Linked DNA regions of Homo sapiens: region 1 is linked to region 2. Evidence: promoter capture Hi-C in human tissues and cell types (Jung and others, 2019). All regions are on one chromosome and are shown on one strand. The core of a region is centred on a gene start or on the middle of the fragment in contact, and the rest is flanking DNA. Distances in the headings are between cores, read along the strand shown.

Region 1 (3,331 bases), core at 754-3,253, 41 kb before region 2:
TTCCAACTCTGTAGGTCTTTTTTTTTTTTTTTTTTTTTTTTTATTTGAGACGGAGTCTCGCTCTGTCGCCCAGGCTGGAGTGCAGTGGCGGGATCTCGGCTCACTGCAAGCTCCACCTCCCGGGTTCACGCCATTCTCCTGCCTCAGCCTCCCAAGTAGCTGGGACTACAGGCGCCCGCCACTACGCCCGGCTAATTTTTTGTATTTTTAGTAGAGACGGGGTTTCACCGTTTTAGCCGGGATGGTCTCGATCTCCTGACCTCGTGATCCGCCCGCCTCGGCCTCCCAAAGTGCTGGGATTACAGGCGTGAGCCACTGCGCCCGGCCAACTCTGTAGGTCTTAAGGTAAGACATGTAACCTTTCTAAATTTAAATTTCCTCACTTACAAAAGGAAGAAAACATATGATATGCTTGTTCCATGTGATGAGAAAGTAAGACAGATAGAAAAAGTTAAAGGGATTTGCAAATTACAAACTGTTATATGAAATAATAATGTTAACAACTACCACCTGGAAAATAAAATCTAACAAACAATAATTTCTGACATGTAACTCAGAAGGTTAAAAAGAGTAAAAGCAAAATAAAGCAAAACAGAATGATACTGCTTTAGCAGAATTCTTACAAGTAATTCTAATCTACTTTATGTGAACAATGTTTCTCAGCAATTATATGTATGAAAATAAAAACTAAGAATGAAATTTATCTGAACATTATCATATTCTAACAATGAATCATATTCAACTCAGATACAAAACTATAGTGGGGAGAGGAGACAGCCCATTCATTTCACTGAAAGATGTATTTCCAATAAAAACGTACTTCACATAAATACCAAAATTCATGATGTTTATGTTGTTTTGACCAATTTTATACCAACAATAAAAGCTGTAGTGATTGGCCAGGCACAATGGTCACGCCTGTAATCCTAACACTTTGGGAGGCCTAGGCAGGCAGATCACTTGAGGCCAGGAGTTTGAGACCAGCCTGGTCAACATGGTGAAACCCCGTCTCTACTAAAAATACAAAAATTAGCTGGGCATGTTGGCACATGCATGTAATCCCAGCTACTCAGGAGGCTGAGACATGAGAATCGCTTGCATCTGGGAGGCAGAGGCTGCAGTGACCCAAGATCATGCCACTGCACTCCAGCCTGGGTGACAGAGTGAGTCTGTCTCAAAAAAAAAAAAAAAAGAGAGAGAGAAAAAGTTGTAATGATTGATGGCTTCATTCAAAAGAAAATATACTATTTAGAGACTTAAAGTCATAGATAATAAAACAAATTTTAACATTTCATTTTATATATTATGGTCATGGAAAAGCACAATAGAGTGATAAAAGAGTTTCTAGTGTAAGCATATATTTTATTATTACATTAAGGAAAGGGGATATGCCATCAAATAGAAAAATGAAAAATGTAAACTTCCCAAATGTTAAAGAAGGGGTATTTGTGTGTTTTGCAAAAGGACGATGGTAGGTATCATTCCAAAGGGTACATTTGAAAGAATAATGTAACATCTCAGTTTTAAAAGTCAGCCAGCATATATGTTAAAAACTGCATAACTACAAGTATTTAAATTTTTGATGAAAAATTTTAGATATCAATCTAAAAAATGTTCAAGTAGGTAGTTTATAAAAAAAATTTTAGGGGCTACCCAAACAAAAATTTGATGTCTCCCCTAAAAACAGAAAAAAAATGCTTAGTCTTGGGAGAACAACTAAGCAACGGTGTCTTTGAATTTGGAAGAAAAAAGCTAATCTCTTTTTAAGTATAATCACTTTAGTAGTTCATATCAGGCCCACAGTAAACCCTATGCAGATGATACACTGCACAATTCGAAGAAGCTCCATTCATGCAAATGACAATTCGCACCACCATATGTGGTAGCCCTGACTCAATTAGGTTGTATAGCTCAGATCTCTCCAAAGACAAAGAAGTCACTAAGAGGCCATTCTCCTACTTATGAAAAAGGAACAATAAAAACTACAATTCAGATGTCCCCAGTATGATATTTTCTGTTACTTAAGCAAGAAACTTATCTTAGGTAAACCAAGAGTTAGTTTGTCAACAGCCAATGACAACAAAAATTCAGCTTTATTTTATAGAAAGAATACAAGATAGAGAGATCTGAGTTAAAAAATCTTTTGCTTTGCTACTTATTAACTTGTAGTCTTGGGCAAGTTACCTAACCTCTGTCAATCTCACTTTTCTCATCTGTAAAAAAGGAAGAATATCTATGTCATAAGATTAATATGTGAATTAATGAGATATAAAGTATCTGATATATTGTATGTGCTCAATAAATGGCAGCTTCTTCTACTTTCAAAATATATTTTAATAGAAAAAAGAAGAAACATAATTGCAATTGTTTAGTGGGCAAACCATTTACAAAATATTATTTATAAAAAGATGATAGGATGGTATTTATAGTAAGATGGTAAAAAAGAAAATATGATAGGGGCTGGGCGTGGTGGCTCACGCCTGTAATCCCAGCACTTTGGGAGGCCAAGGTGGGCGGATCACCTGAGGTCAAAAGTTCGAGGCCAGATTGGTCAACATGGTAAAACCCCATCTCCACCAAAAATACAAAAATTAGCAGGGCGAGGTGGCGTGCGCCTGTAATCCCAGCTACCCAGGAGGCTGAGACAGGAGAATCGCTGGAACCCAGGAGGCAGAGGCTGCAGTGAGCCAAGATCATGCCACTGCACTCAACCCCGGGTGACAGAGCAAGACTCCCAACTCCAAAAAAAAAAAAAAAACAATAGGAAGAAATAAGCAGCAGGGGCAATGTAATAGGCCAAAAAAAGCGAAACATTTAAGAAATGGAAGGCAGTCATCAATGTAGAGGAAAAACAAGAAAAGACACCATTCATTTAGTTAGGGCTTTGATCTATCCTAAAAGCTTTTTTGATTTGTGATAAACAAAACTTCTACTGGACCTTCACTTTGAAGGCAAATACTTTTAAGAACTAAATTCAGTTTCCAGTATACCCACTGGTTTGTTGAGAATCAACAGGCACTCTTTGGTGCTGCAGTTACTTTTCCTAAAAAACCAAGTAAGAAAATGTGTAATGTATCATCTGATCAATTGACAGAAAGGTCTCTGTTGATCACATAGACACTCAACAGATACAAGCAATGAGATCACCCTAGGAATTTATCATGCTTTTTTCCTTTTCTCAGTTTCAGACCTATAAGAAGGTTCTTCACACTCAACGTTAGGAGCTGTCATTACATAGTGAGTACAGTCCCTAAAATAATACAATGGTTGCTCTGGAAATACAAACTACAGATTCTTGAAAACAGTTCAATCATCTCTGATCAAATAAAAA
Region 2 (3,330 bases), core at 831-3,330:
CCCTCCCACCCCAACCTGTCGAGTCCCTCAAGGCTAGCCAGAACCAATTCAAACATTACCAAATACAGGGCAAGTCAGGAGAGAGGCAGGGACTCTGTCTCATCTGCTACCCTAACCTTGAGTCCCCAACTGGTAAGCATGCAATAAATGTTGAAATGATTATTGCAACATTAAAGGAAAGTAGTGATTATAAACAAGAGAACTCAAGCATCATCTATATTTGGCATCAAAACATTGATTTGTTCTTACAGATTTTAACATCCTGATTACACTTGGCTGAGTACATATCCTGGCATTCTTGAGTGTTCACAAAATTTATAAGGCTGTAATAAACATTTGCCACTTTAAAAACTGTTCACTAAGATGATAATGCATATTCAGAAAATCAAGGAAAGACACAATCCTTGAATCACTGGTAAACATGAGTCTACAATGTTCTAAAAGACTTGGGCTCTTTTACTAAATTATCGTGTTCTAGTTCCTTCATAAAGCTATTTTAAAAACAAACAAAAACAAGAACTTATATTAAGGTTACAAGAACAAACACTGCTCACAAATAGTATTTTTACATTTGTTCAGAACAGGTTTATATCCAAAAGCGATTATAGTAAACAATGACTACTGAGAGTACAGCATGTAATACTGATAGGTAAGGCTGATCCAAAGAATATTAAGGCTAAAGTATCACTCAACTTCTGATCCTCAGGACAAACGATACACTTCATGTTTGAAAAGCATCAGTTGTAAAACTTAGATGTTGATTAAACTAATTCATAAAGTCCAGCAGATTTTCATTAGGAAATTAGATAAAACAGGTCAATCATCTGGAGAGTACTAATGCAGTTTGGTTCTCGTACCAACACAGGACAGAGGTATTTTTCTAAATTCAGTCAATTACTTTCCAAGGTTCTCATCTGACATACTAAGAAGTCTGTAAGGAGAATTCCTCCACCCTTGGCCCCTATCCGCGAACATTCCAAATCTCAGCATTAGGGAATGCATATCCATCATTTTGCAGCCTACTAAAAGCCCACGACCTTAATATGAAAGCGGCTTTCGTGCTGCATTTGGCTGCTGCCTGTATGAAGGCCCTGCCTCAAAGCAGGGCCAACTCTGGCACGTTTTTTCATCTCTGAAAGTGGAGCTAGGAAAAACACCCAGATCTAAAGATGTTCGTTTAAATCCGTTTACATCTGCTCCCTTTCAAACACTACAAGCAAACTCCAAAAGCTTGAGCAGCAGCCGCAGCGGCAATGACAGTTCTTGAGGCCGAACTGGGTCAGGGTTACAGTTACACTTATATAGCATATTTACACCCTTTTGTCTACAAACTTGAGTGCAAACTTAAGTTTCCTCAAGGCAGCGTGTTCGCTGGGCCTCGGGAACCGAAGCAATTTTCCTGAGACAGGAAGGGCACAATCCACCCTGCTGGGTGGCTGCACCAGCCTTCTCCGGACCACGCACTCAGCGGCCTCGGCTTCTGGCCAGCTCTCGCAGCCAAGGGGTCGCTCGGGGCAACTCGCCCGCGTCCAGGCTAGGTAACTGGGTTTTACTACGTGGGCTCCCAGCTTTTCAGTCGCCCCTACTCGCCCGAGGCCGTTTCGGGCCTGGGGTCGCATTACATAAACAGCCACGGCCCCAGCTTTCCCAGGCCGGCCCCCGCCCCCACGCCAGGGGCGTCCCACCCCCGCGCGCCCCGCGCCGTGCCTTCCCTGCCCCCTACCCGCACCCAACCCGGACCCCGCGGCCTCCGCACCGCGCCCGCTCCCGTCCCTCGGGCCGGGCCTGGCCCCGAACGCCCTTCCCGGCCCGGCCCGCCCCGCCCCGATGTGGCCGTGCAGGCCGCCCAGCCGGTGCTAGGCCCCGCGCTCCGCCCGGGCCGCCCGCCTCACCGTTCTGCTGGTGCGGCGCCGGGCCCGCACCCGGGCCCGCGGGCGCTGCGGCTCCTGAGACGGCCGCTCCGCCGAACTTGGGCGGGATCCGGGCGCTGGCGGCCGGGTGAGAGGACCCGGCGGGGGCCGACATGACGGCGCTGGTGGCGACGGCGGCTCCGCTTCAGGGAGGTGGGCGGAGGGAAGGGAAGGCGGGGCCGGAGAGGAGAGAGGAAGAGGAAGGAACGCGCCTGGCGTCACTGAGGGTGTCACCCGGGACCGCGGCTCAGGTACCCAAGCTTCTCCGCGAGTCCAGCGCTGCCACTCGGCGGCCGCCGCGGGCGCGGGGATCCTGGGTCGCTCCGCCTTGACCCACGCGCCCCACGCCCCGGGACTTACACCTGGGGTCGCTCCCCGCACGCGCGGGCCTCGCGCCGGTGCCGCCGCAGCGCCCCCTGCAGGCCGGAGCCGAGCTGGCCCAGGCCTGAGTCTGGCCCGGGGTTCCGTGGCCCCAGTGCCGGCCCCGCGGCTGCTGCTCCGGCCCGGCCAGGTGCCTTCGTGTTGAGGCGAAAGGACTGGGCCTCAGTGGGTGAAGGGACCGGGTGGCCCGCTTCCACCTAGGGCAGAGGCTGGATCGGCCGCGGCGAGGCTGGGCCCAGCATTACTGGGAGGGGAACTTGAGAGCCGCGGGTTGATGTTCGGAGCTCAGGCGACGACTGACCACCCACCCTTCCTCGAAGAGGAACAATGGCTTGGGTTTGGTTTTTAATTTTTGATTCCCCCACCTCCCCTTTCTTGATTCCAAAGGAAATATAGCATTCAAGCGCCATGTCTGTTGGGAATATATAATTCCTTGGCAAAGAAAGAGGAAACATTTCTCTGATAAACACAAGAATCTCAGTAAGAATTGCATTATTGAGAACTTTTCCCACTGATAAAGTAGGGAAGAGGAAGGGGAAAATAGGGTAAGGGAATGCTGGAAGACAAACTTTAAACTTTATCTCCTTTTTTTTTTTTTTTTTTGTCGATTGTTGGTGCATCCTGTTGGTGTTCCGAGAAGTTGTGGCTCAGCTTGCTTTGTCTACATTAGTGGAATCTTTAAGTCTTTCTGGTCTGTCTCAGCATACTCACTGGCAGGCCCTAGACTACATTACCCAAGTCATTTTGCCGTCTTGGAATCCTGAGTATGTCATCACTCTGTATTGGAGATGAGATTGCTCAGAAACACTGAATTCAGAATGGGATCTAGCAAGATGGTATTTCTGGAGCAATAAGTCATTTACTGAATGATTATGCAAAGCATAAATTGCATTGTAGTCCTAGAATAATACAAAGCTTCCCTTTAGTTGTTGCCGTAAATTAATAACTGGCATTTTAATGCACTAAATGAATTTTAGTAGTTAGATTTATATCTTTGACTTCTAGGAATTTCAACTACATTAGAGTTCATATACACAAA

The links. Contacts are between HindIII fragments. The study calls those that stand out against the background at their distance.
Region 1: a fragment that was not itself captured here is called in contact with the fragment with the promoter of SEC24B in region 2 in 1 of the 25 tissues and cell types used here (hippocampus).

What each region holds. Positions count from the first base shown.
Region 1 is chr4:109,473,852-109,477,182 of GRCh38, reverse strand. The region is part of intron 3 of SEC24B (SEC24 homolog B, COPII component); the gene reads right to left. Among named protein-coding and RNA genes, the nearest start is that of MIR576, 13 kb to the left of the region's middle. The HindIII fragment of the contact is 4,080 bases long and covers 1-3,331 here.
Region 2 is chr4:109,432,565-109,435,894 of GRCh38, reverse strand. It overlaps SEC24B (SEC24 homolog B, COPII component), which reads right to left and starts at 2,080. Exons shown (of 24, transcript NM_006323.5): 1 at 1,893-2,080. The coding sequence starts at 2,025. It overlaps SEC24B-AS1 (SEC24B antisense RNA 1), which reads left to right and starts at 2,078. Exons shown (of 3, transcript NR_039978.1): 1 at 2,078-2,161. RefSeq lists enhancers at 1,101-1,250, 1,327-2,186 and silencers at 1,068-1,362, 1,741-2,010, 2,061-2,450. The HindIII fragment of the contact is 2,513 bases long and covers 176-2,688 here.